Linked DNA regions of Homo sapiens: all the other regions are linked to region 1. The links are contacts of gene promoters, found by promoter capture Hi-C in human tissues and cell types (Jung and others, 2019). All regions are on one chromosome and are shown on one strand. The core of a region is centred on a gene start or on the middle of the fragment in contact, and the rest is flanking DNA. Distances in the headings are between cores, read along the strand shown.

The links. The method cuts DNA at HindIII sites, captures the fragments that hold promoters and counts their contacts. A contact is called where the count stands out against the background at its distance.
Region 2: a fragment that was not itself captured here is called in contact with the fragment with the promoter of CEP192 in region 1 in 1 of the 25 tissues and cell types used here (dorsolateral prefrontal cortex).
Region 3: a fragment that was not itself captured here is called in contact with the fragment with the promoter of CEP192 in region 1 in 1 of the 25 tissues and cell types used here (dorsolateral prefrontal cortex).
Region 4: a contact is called between a fragment that was not itself captured here and the fragment with the promoter of CEP192 in region 1, in 1 of the 25 tissues and cell types used here (dorsolateral prefrontal cortex).

The regions. Positions count from the first base shown.
Region 1 is chr18:12,989,741-12,992,752 of GRCh38, forward strand. CEP192 (centrosomal protein 192) reads left to right here and starts at 1,622. Exons shown (of 45, transcript NM_032142.4): 1 at 1,622-1,697. RefSeq lists enhancers at 1-553, 944-1,323 and a silencer at 1,804-1,883. The HindIII fragment of the contact is 10,836 bases long and covers 1-3,012 here.
Region 2 is chr18:13,582,875-13,585,609 of GRCh38, forward strand. All of the region lies in intron 4 of LDLRAD4 (low density lipoprotein receptor class A domain containing 4), which reads left to right. Among named protein-coding and RNA genes, the nearest start is that of MIR4526, 27 kb to the right of the region's middle. The HindIII fragment of the contact is 4,344 bases long and covers 1-2,735 here.
Region 3 is chr18:13,532,917-13,535,800 of GRCh38, forward strand. All of the region lies in intron 4 of LDLRAD4 (low density lipoprotein receptor class A domain containing 4), which reads left to right. Among named protein-coding and RNA genes, the nearest start is that of LDLRAD4-AS3, 63 kb to the left of the region's middle. The HindIII fragment of the contact is 4,596 bases long and covers 1-2,884 here.
Region 4 is chr18:13,600,259-13,603,059 of GRCh38, forward strand. The region is part of intron 4 of LDLRAD4 (low density lipoprotein receptor class A domain containing 4); the gene reads left to right. Among named protein-coding and RNA genes, the nearest start is that of MIR4526, 9.5 kb to the right of the region's middle. The HindIII fragment of the contact is 8,354 bases long and covers 1-2,801 here.

The sequences.
Region 1 (3,012 bases), core at 372-2,871:
AGTCCGGAACCTGTAGACACATTTAAGCAGTTCACCTCCAATGTGTGACCGCTTTGTAGAAAAAGAGGTTAAGAGAGGTCAGCTCTAGGGCTGAGCATTTGGCTTACTTTTTTGGGATTCAGAAAATCTTGAGATTTTCTGCATTTATCTTTGCTCACTGAGTGTGGACAAAGGTAGAATAAAGGTAATTACTCTTTGCAAATACCAAGGCTGCAGGGTTCCAAGAAGAGGTGTCGAACTGTGGAGATATCACTGAGTTTGACAATTAGGAGTCTATTCCTGATAAAGTTTTAAGGACCCAGCTAGACACCATGAAATGCGTCAAAATAAGGTGTAAAAAGTGGAAGCCTGGCTTCCTCTATGGAAAAAAAAGTGGAGACCATTAAGGGAAGGAAACAAGAATGGTCATTAGGTGATGAAACAGAATCAAGGAAGGGGTGTGTGTGGGTGTGTGGTTTGAGTGGTGTTTGTGTGTGGAGGGTGTGTGTGGTGTGTGGGTGATGTGTATGTGGGTGTGTGTTGTGTATGGATGTGTGTATACGTGTCACACACGTGTGTGTGGTGCATATGTGGGTGTGTGTGGTTTGTGGTGTGAGTGGTGTGTGTGGTGTATGGGTGTGTGGTGTGTGTGTTTGGGTAGAGAGGTGCTGCATTTTTGTAGGCAGAGAGAAGGAAACCAGTGGAGAGGATATCCAAGAATGACAGGTGAGCCATGTTTGCAGGAGGTAGAAAGTGGTCAAGTAAACAGACGTCTTTCCCCACCAAGTAACCTCAGGTCTAGGGACTTCTAAACTTTGCGTTTTCCCTCTTCTTTCCTCCAAGGTGCGCCGGACATCTTTCAGTAACTTGAACGAAGTTAAGGAGTTAGCTTTGGAAAAGAGGGACTCTTTTCCCTCTGTGACTATATGGAATAAATTTTGAGATAAGGGACCTTACTGAAAAAGACTGAGATACATTTTGAGTGAAAGGCATGGTCTCAGTGAAGTAGTTAAGGGCCTGTGCCGAGCAGATGGCGGTGATGGGTTTTGTGGCCTAAGAAGGATGGAGAAAAGTAGGAAGCAATCGAGACAAAGCCTACTCTGTCACAAAGAGGCGACTAGATGTGGCGAAATGTCATGAAACTTGGATCCCGAGGAATTAGCTGATTGAAGGTGAAACCTGACGCCTTTCAGCGCCTACCAACAGGAAAGGTCTGCATCTGCCCACGGAAGGACGAAACCTATCGGGGGGGATTTGTTGGCGGGGGATACTTCTTTGCGCATAGAGTGACTGGCGGTGCCCTGGAGACCCAAACTGAATAAAGTAAGCATTATTTTCAAATTCGCCAAGACCTTGAAGGCGGCGCCAACGGGAGCCGTCCCCCGGGTCCCACGCAGCGCAGAGCTCCATTTCCTCCTCCGGACTCGCAGGGCGCGCGGCTTCCTCGCTTCAAATCCAGGAACGCGCTGTCCCCACCAATCACCGGGCTTCTTCCCGCCCCATGTCTTCCCGCTGTCCAATCAAAAGCCAGCTCAGTCTCCTCCCCTTGCCTGGTGCCGCGAACAGACGTAAACCAGAGGCGGGCGCGGTACGGCCGTTCCGGGCTCCAGCCGGTGCGGGGGCCACGCGCACGCGCACTTGCAGTGCCCTGGGACACCTCTTCAGTCCGTGGACTTTCCCGCTGCACACTGCCCTCCGAAGTCGGGGACGCGGGCTCGGTGAGGGGGGACGCTGGTGCCTCGGCCTGCGCCTAGGCGGGAGGCAGACGCATGCACCTTTGGCCTACGTTTCGGCTGCCGGACCGACGGGACAGTGACGGTTGGGCCGGGTGGGGGCGCAGGCTGTGGGGCGGCCTCAGGGCGCGAGCAAGGGGACTGCCGCGCTTCCCGCGCCTCTGCGCCTGGCGCAGCCTCTGAGCTGAGCTCCGCCTGGTTGGGATTAATTGCACGCCTCTGTGTCATCGGGCTTTGGCCGGGCGTGATGAGACAGACTGTTAGGGGATCACGTCCTTCTTTCCTCCCCTCTTGTCTGGGGACTTCCACCTCTTGAGGGACAGGCCCTCTCCGTGCTACCCTCTGGAGTTTCTTGCAGTGTGCTTGTGAAGTGACCGGTGATGTTTCCTTTATGTGCCCTGTGATGGGCGGTTCTGTTCCTCCTTTTTGTTTAAAATTCTGACCCAGGAAGTAACCTTGTTAACTTAACTTAATGCCCTTGTCTTCCGTTTACTCACTTGATTTGGTTTCTGCTAGGTTGCGTTCATTTATTCCTAATAGTTTACCTACATTCCTTGCCTATGATTTCATTATCAACAGAACGTGAAATGAGACGAATGTTAATACACTCTACTTTTACTTTGCTGTTACTTTCAGAGTTTGTTTAGTAAAACATGAGGACCTCTTCAAGTCAGTCGTTTGGAGAACAGCTGTTTATATGACCATATTTCCATTTGCTCTTACTATTTTGAGGTCATTCGACTGGCGTTTTTACTGCTCCAAAATCAACTTTTTCTCCAAATTTCAGTTTTCTAGGCAAAAACGGCAAGCCTTGAACAATAATATACCAAATGCCTACCTAGTTTTAAAGTATATCTTAAAGTGCCAAGAGTAAATGATGAGTTTTGGGGAAGTTTGACTCGGCTTTGGGTTCCACGGCGTGTGCTTTTAAATGTGTTTAATTGTATACATAGACCTACGATTAATGACTATAGTCAGTAATCTTTTATGTACCTAGGAATGTAATTAGTGAGTCCAGATGTGAAATTTGAGGTCACTACTTTAAGGAAATAGCAAGAGAAATTGCAAATATAGCCACTCAGTTCAAATAGGATAGAAGAAAAATATTGTCTTCACTTGAGATGATGGAGGAGGGGTGGGTAATGCAATAATGTGAGAAATTAAAGGAAATTTCCTTTAGGAATGTGTTATGTCCATGAATGGTTTACAAGTGTAATCTTTTCTGGAGAAGAGACTAGGTATTAGGTTACATCTTGAGGAATCTTCCCGTGGGTTTTGTTACCTTTGCACCCTTAGCAAA
Region 2 (2,735 bases), core at 232-2,731, 590 kb after region 1:
CTAATTTTTAAATTTTACATTTTGTAGAGATGGGGTCTTGCTATGTTGCCCAGGCTTGTCTCCAACTCTGGCCTCAAGTGATCTTCCCACCTCAGCTTCCCAGTGTGCTGGGATTATAGGGGTGAGCCACCGCGTCTTGCTTGTATACTCATCTGAATCAAACCTTAATAGGTTTCCATGCTGAAGAGCTCTTTTTGGTCTCTGGGTCTTTTTGATTATTTCACCCGCACCATAAGACTGTGAATTATAGCTCTTATTTTAAAATTTATTTACTAGCCACAGTGGACTAGATGCTATCCAAAAAATTAGAAGCTTTTGTAATATTAGTACAAAATTATATATAAATACATGTAATTTAATATTTTAGTATTTCTTTTATATTCTCTCATTTTTTTCTAAAACACTGTGAAATTGTTAGGGCAATATTTGTAGTCTAAATCTGCAGATGACAAGGTGAGGTGGAGAGAGGATGGCTGACAGACTGGGGCGGCCTCCTGATGGCCACGTGTGTGGTGACTGACTTTTGTTACCGAGACCTAGGGGAGGGACGTGGTGGTCACGGCACCAACTTTGAGATGCCTAAGATCTAGTTAGTAGTACTAGAATGCATGGGATTGGGAACTTTAAATGAGTTGTAAAAAATAAGTGTTATTAGAGTTCCAAAAAGAAAGAAACGAGTTTGGCCGCTGAGATATTTAGAGGAACATAATATCACCACGTTCAACTGATAAATTAAATTTTAAGAAAGATTGATATTTGCCAAAAGATATGAAGTTAGAGTAAAAGAGGCTCGGTGGCTTGACCAGGGTGTGGTTTTCACTCTTTCATTCACTGACAAGTAGTGTTGGGGGGCCCGGCCGCGCCGAAGCCTGCTTGAGTCACCGAGCCAGGGCGCTGCGGCTCCCCACTGCTGGCGGAGTCTTATTGTTGTGTCTCTCGCTTTGCCTTTCACAGTTCTGGCATGGCAGGGCTTAATGAATGTCAGGCTCAGAGGGAAGAGAATGGAACCTGCGAGCACTTTCTGCCACTCACAGAGCGGGGTCACCTCGCCCTGCTCCCCCAGCTGCCTACAGGCCTGCCGTGCCCTTCCCATCTCCGCAGCCTCAGCCTGGCTTCCCTTGAGGACCACCACCGCCCTTAGCCCATCTCCCACACCCATCTTGCTGAGAGTGCAGGTGAGCCCGGCCCACCCGAAGCCACGTTGCCTCCCATCACCCTTCAGTGCTCTGGGGCCACAGGGGAAAGCCTGTGACCGGCGTCTGCCTCTGCCTGCCTTGGTCTCTTCATCGTCATAATGCCCTGGACTCCAATTGCTTAGGGTTGTCCCAGACACACTGTGCTCTGTCATCTCTTAACCTCTGCTTCATGACAGTCTTTCCCCCTGGAATCTTGTCCCCTCTTTCTGTCATCTGACTAATTATTACTTATCCCTTAAGACTCAGATGAGTGGCCACCTCCTACAGGAAGCCTTCTTCCACTCTCTCTTCTTCCCACTGCTTGGCGCTTCCTCTCCTCTCCTGAGCTGAGCTGTGATGATTCTGTGATAGCCCTGCCCAGCTGGTTTGTAGCTATCTGCTATCTGTCTCCTCTTCCTTCCCAGACACTTCCAGCTTGTCTGAGAACAGGAGCTCATCCGTGTTGTTCCCCTCGGTGACTAGCACTGCACCTGGCGCCCAGGAAGACTTAGCCAATGGAGGAATCATAGGATGGCTCGGTGGAGGGATGGCTACAAAACCTGTCTTTTCTCATACTCATTTCTTGTTAACTGTGCACAAATAATTCCATATTACCACTTCTTATTGTGCTTAATCCTAGGGTAAATTTAAGTTAAGAGTGTGCTGTGGGGAAGAAAGGCAAGTTGTCTGAAGATTATTCTGCAGTGAGAACTTTGGATCTGTCTCCTGATACACTGTAGAACCAGGATAAACCATAATTGTCCAAATCCTTCAGGGCTTTCCTTCCAAATGAAGTGATTAACTTCTGCGGTAAACTTCCTCTTGTCCAGGCTCCAGGCTTCGTGCTGGGCCTGACAGCACTCAAGCTTTGCTGCCCACGTAGGCAATTAGGGTGTCCTTATCCTTCGGTTCCACTGCCTGGTGAAATATTAGATAACGAGGACAGAGCTTATCTTACACGCGTCTGAGCTGACAAATATGGCAGCCTTTCAGCAAAAGGCAAATGCAGACGAGGCCTTTTCCCTGGCTGGAATAAGAATGAGCCTCATGCGTGTCTGGCCCCATTGCCGATGGTCAAATGCACTCGACATGATTTCCATAGCACCCAGACAGCCTGAGTAGCTCATATCTACCTGTCTAGTCAATACATCAGCTTTGCTGGGGAGAGAGCAGGAGTTTGTCACTGGGGCTCATTTCTAATGCATCAGGAACAAATCTGTTACTGGCTCTCTTTATTCTGGCATGAATACTGTAAGCTGCATGAATTTATCTTCGGTGATAAATAACAGTGCCTTCTGGGTTCTGTTTTTTTAAAGGGGTCTTTGCTAAGCCATTAATATTGAGGTGAAGAGAGAGGAGAAGAAATGGATTATGCCTGACCGTGGAGATTAGCAGCCTGCTCAGGTGAAGGGTGGCCACACTTATTAATGCACTAATGAGCAAGCAGGGTCATTCTGATGATTAGTAATTTTGGCAACATAACTTCTGCCCCAGATTTGATTAAGCCTTCATACAGACTTCCTCTTCCAGGAGATTATCTTTTCAAAGCACATTTGGTTT
Region 3 (2,884 bases), core at 359-2,858, 540 kb after region 1:
CCCTTGGTCAGGAGCTTGGAGTAGCAATGTCGGGTTTTCTGAATGAGAAGCAAAACAACACTCGGGAAATGAGCCTCGTTTGGCTGGAAATAGTGTGCCAGTGTTTTCTTGCTTCGGGTTAGATACCAGTTAATTTACCCATTGTTTTTCATTAACTAATACATCAAATTTCTGAGCACCTACTGTGTGTCAGGGCTAAGGGATAAGCCAGCGACCAATAGACAAGGTCCCTGCCCCTCACAGCAACCATCTAGTGATGGGCTCAAGTCACAGGGCTTCTGTCTGAATAAACTTGTGTATCTCCACAAAGAGATGTTTTTGTTGCTGCAATGGATTTTTCATCTTGAAACCCCAGTCACTTTGATGTATTTCTGGTCCCCAACTACTGTCAAACATTTACTTTTTAACTCCTCATGACCACTTTGAAGAACCAGAAAGGGAAGATAAAGAAAATAACATTGCAATGAGCAGATCTTTGGACTAGAGCATTTTAAGGAGAAAGGGCTTAATTTTGAAGAAAGTCAAAATAGAATTAAGCATTTACACTTAGCTTATGATCCCAATTTTTTTCATATTCTTTGCATTAACCGTAACATTTTTCAGTGTGCCTGGCAAGAATTTGGTTTAAACATGTGGATTTGATTTAAATATAAATTGTACTTACAAACGGTACTCCAGTTGCCCATTACCATGGATGTTTTGGAAGTGATTATGTACTGAATCTTACCATGAAGCAGTAGTCCATGTATCTGAATTACATTTAGGCCTTTTAAAACATATCACATTATGTATATAGTTAGAAGGAGGGATGAGATGGGTATTTTTGAATTGAGTTTAATGGCTTACTTCAATAGGTGAATAAGGTTCTGCTCTGGGAATTAAAGGGACTTTTAAGTTTCTCTCTTGACTCTGATGTGCCTTTCACTGAACAGTAAAGGACCGGGGAGACTTGCCCAGCTCTCCTACTTGACAAAAGGTGAAATAGAATGATGCCATGAAATGCATCAATGTAAAATGCAGTTTTAAGATTGCATTTTAACTTGAGAGGGTCGTGAAGCTCTTGCCTTCCCATTAAGCCCCCAGGAATAATCTCCAGGTGTGTCTTCTGGCACTCCACGCTGCCTGCCTTCTGATGCTTCCTATGAATTGTTGGAACCAGCCATATCCTTCTCACTTCTGCCACAAAAACTCCTGGTGGTTTTGTACTTTGCCACCTTGTTTAGGTTTCATAGGCGATTGGTTCAAGGCAGTGCCTATCTGCACTTCCCTGTAACTCTCACTTTTTTTCTTTAATGTGGCCTGCATATGAATATATCAACACTTTTTAAATTAAAGGCTAATGAGCTCACTGCACAGCCTGAGTACGTTTGGTATTTGGCCTTCTTGGAGATGCTCTGCATGTGTCAAATGTTATTTTCAGAAAACTGGCTAAACTTTTAATGGGACCTGTTGTTAAATCACCCTGTGTTTCCCCCATAAACACGAATGTTAATTTACATTTTTAACCTAACTGAATGAGTTGTTTTTCTTAAATTCCTTTGCAGTTTGAAGGAACATACCTTGCAACAGGAAAGCTTTAAGAAAGAGGACGAAAAGGCTTTATAATCTTTCTTGAAGAGACCCTGTTGCTAAAAAGAAAAAAAAAAAGAAAGTCAAAATAAACACATAGAAGAGAGAGAGGCTGCATTTGTCTGGTGTGCCCTGTACTTTCTTATACTCATGTTTGATATTTGCTATCTATTGTGGGACATCTTTTTGTATGCTTTGCTGAGGTAGAATTCACATACTGTGAAAGTTACTCACTTTTGGTGAAGAGTTCGATGAATTTTGGTAACGACATACAGTTGCATAATCTACACCACAGTCACAGAACAGTCTTATCTCCCTGAAAAGTTGGCTCATGTTCCTTGATACCCAGTCCCCAGTCCCGACCCCAGGCTCCAGGCCACCTCGGACCTGCTGTCACTCTACTTTTTTCTCTTCTGGAATATAGTACAGTAGAAACATGCATTATGTCATCCTTGCAGTTTTGCTTCTTTCATTTAGGGTTATGTTTTTGAGACTCATCCATATAATGGTGTGTTTCCATGGTTCATTCTGTTGTACTGCTGAGTAGTGTTCTATGGTGTGGATGTACCCTACTCTGTTCATCCACTCATCCATTGACGGAACTGTTCATTGTTTCCAGTTTGGGGCTATTAGAAATAATATTTCTGTGAATATTCACATAGAAGTCTTTGTGTGGGCATATATTTTCATTTTTCTTTGTTAAATACCTGAGAGTTGACTGGCCGGGTTATATGTGTTTAATTTAATGGGTAACGCTATACTGGTTTTCAAAGTGGCTTTAACATTTTGTATTCCAGCCAGCAATGAATGGGGGTTCTGATTGAGCCACATTCTCATCAACACTTGATATTATCAGTCCTTTTACCTTTAGTCATTCTGGTGGTTGTGTAGTGCATCTTACTGTTGTTTGAATATGCATTTCCCTCATGACTAGTGATGTTGAGCATCTCTTTATGTCCCTCTTGCTTATCTGTGTCTTTACTTTTGTGATATGTTGTTTTAAATCTTTTGCACATTTTTTATTGGGTTGTCTATTGATTTGTAAGAAAACTATATATGTTTTGAATACAAACTTTTTGTTAGATATATATTTTCCGCAAATATTTTCTCCTAGTCTGTGGTTTGTTTTTTGTTTTTCTTAGCTGTTTTCAAAGATGAAGAGCTTTTTATTTGTATGAGGTCCATTTCATAATTTTTCTTATATAAATTGTGGATTTCATGTCCTGTTTAAGAAATCTTTGCCCAACCTAATGTCACAAAGATTTTCTCCCATGTTTTCTTCTATAAGTTTAACAGTTTCAGCTTTTATGTTTAG
Region 4 (2,801 bases), core at 213-2,712, 610 kb after region 1:
ATCAATATTAAATAAATAATAGAACATGTGGAGTGCAGGTATTTTAAGAATCCTTAGGGTGGGACTTGAAGGACTTGGACTGAAGTGTGCAAGACATTGATTTGGTCCTAGCAATGAAATGAGACATGTGAGGACTGCACAGCTGTGTGACTCAAGATGTCACTTTCAGCTAGCAGGACAGGTGGCACTAGACCCTGGGTCTCCTGACCAGCATCCAACTGCATCAAGAGTCACTAAAGCCAAAATGTTCCAGGCATAATGACAGCAGACAGAATCTGTAGCCTAAGACTTCCAGGGCATTCAGCTGGAGTCTGATCAAGGTTCGCCATTTGCTGTTTTGTCTGTTTGAGCTAAAAATCACCAAGAAGACCATGTGTGACCAAATTGCCACCCTGCAGCCAACCTTTGCCAGGATTTCTGCCTCTCAGAGGATGAATGGTGATAGACTGGTTTGGAAAATTTTTCTGTAAGGTATATTATAGGAAACAAAATTGTAAAGGTATTTGCAGTATTACCATTTCTAAGCTTGTAAATTTTTTTAAAATTACTTTTATTTGTATAACCAAAATTAGATGGGTTTCTGCCAGAGTAGCATTCCTTCTATGAGGACTCTACATTTTTATTATTAACACTCTATTTTACTGTATTTGCTTTCCTGCTGTGGGTATTTACTATGTTGAGAATAACAGACTTAATTAAGGTCATTTTTAATCAAAACAAGACCATGTTTCTCCTTATCTGCATAAAAGGCACTATCAGGCCTTTAGGGAGGATGGGCACCTGTTCTCCTAACCCTTTGGCTTCTGTCCATTTCATGGTGGCAAGGTGTCATCATAAAGTCCAGTCGATCCATCTCCATTATCTCTGGTTAACCAGGGGCCTCACATTCACAGCTAAGTTTGTCATGTTTCCATTTGTCAGCCCTGTAGAAATATTTTAAACGCAGAAATCTGATGTTATAATGCATTTAACAATGATCATTTATCCAAAATCTATGAGGAATGTAAACAAATCAATGAGAATAAAACAAATAACCCCACTAAAAACTGGGCAAAGGACATGAACAAACACTTCTCAAAAGAAGACTTACAAGTGACCAACAAACATAGGAAAAAATGCTCAACATCACTAACCATAAGAGAAATGCAAATCAAAACCACAGTGACCACCTCACAGCAGTCAAAACAGCTATTATTAAAAAGACAAAAAATAACAGATATTGACGAGGCTGCAGAGAAAAGGGAACACTTCCGGGCATGGTGGCGGGCGCCTGTAGTCCCAGCTACTCGGGAGGCTGAGGCAGGAGAATGGCATGAACCCGGGAGGCGGAGCTTGCAGTGAGCCAAGATTGCGCCACGGCACTCCAGCCTGGGCGACAGAGTGAGACTCTGTCTGAAAAAAAAAAAAAGAAAAAAAAAGGAAAAGAAAAGGGAACACTTACACACTCTTGGTGGAAATGCAAGTTAGTTCAGCCACTATAGAATGCAGTTTGGAGATTTCTCAAAGAACTGAAAATAGAACTACCATTCCACCCAGCAATCCCACTACTGGATATATGCCCAAAGGAAAATAAATCAGTCTACCAAAAAGACACTTGCACCTGTATATTTATTGTAGCACTTGTTCACAATAGCAAAGACATGGAATCAACCTAGATGTCCATCCGTAGTGGATGAAGAAAATGTGGTACATATGCACCATGAAGTACTACACAGCTGTGAAAAAGAATGAAATCATGTCCTTTGCAGAAACATGGATGCAGCCGGAGGCCATTATTCTAAGTGAATTAATGCAGAAACAGAAAAAGTAAATATAAGTATTTTCTCACTTATACATGGAAGCTAAGCACTGGATACTCATGGACATAGAAATGGGAACAATAGAAACTGGGGACTCCAAAAGGAAGGAAGGAGAGAGGTGGGAAAGGGCTGAAAAACTTCCTATCGGGTATTATGCTCACTGTCTTGGAGACAAGATCAATAGAAGCACAAGCCCCAGCAGCATGCAGTATAACCTTGTATCAAACCTGCACATGTACCCCCGAACCTGATACTAAAAGTAAAAAAGAACTTGATCGTATCAGACAGTTTAGTAGGGGTTAGAATTTCAACCCAGGATATCTGACTGCAAATCCACATCCTTCCCAAAGCAGTATATTGGTTGCTTTGGGAATCATCATTGGTGGTGGGATGGGGGGAATTTTATCAGACATCATTCTTAAACCATGGCATTTAATTTTTTTTTTTTTTTTTTTTTTTGAGATGGAGTCTCACTCTGTCACCCAGGCTGGAGTGGAGTGGCACAATCTCAGCTCATTGCAACCTCCGCCTCCCGGGTTCAAGGAATTTCTAACTAATTTTTGTATTTTTAGTAGAGTCTGGGTTTCAACATATTGGCCAGGCTGGTCTCGAACTTCTGACCTTAAGTGATCTGCCCACCTTGGCCTCCCAAAGTGTTAAGATTACAGGTGTGAGCCACTGTGCCCGGCCTAATTTTTTATTTAAAAAATAAAAAGAAGAAAAACTAGAAATTAAAAAACAAATAAAAATTTGTCATTTCAGTACTTTTTCAAGTCACAAATAAGTAAAATATTGAACTAAGCAATCCCTCCAGGCACATCATGGCTTTCAGCATTGGAACAGGTTCCAAGGAATCCTATTGGAGAGGACATTTAATGGGAGGACATCGCTATATGTTTTCAGTCAGAAAGAAAAGAAAGGCTATGGACATAACAAATTTAAAACAGTGAAAAAGAAAAGTGTTGAGGGAGCTTTTATTCTAGAAAACTCTGATTTTTATAA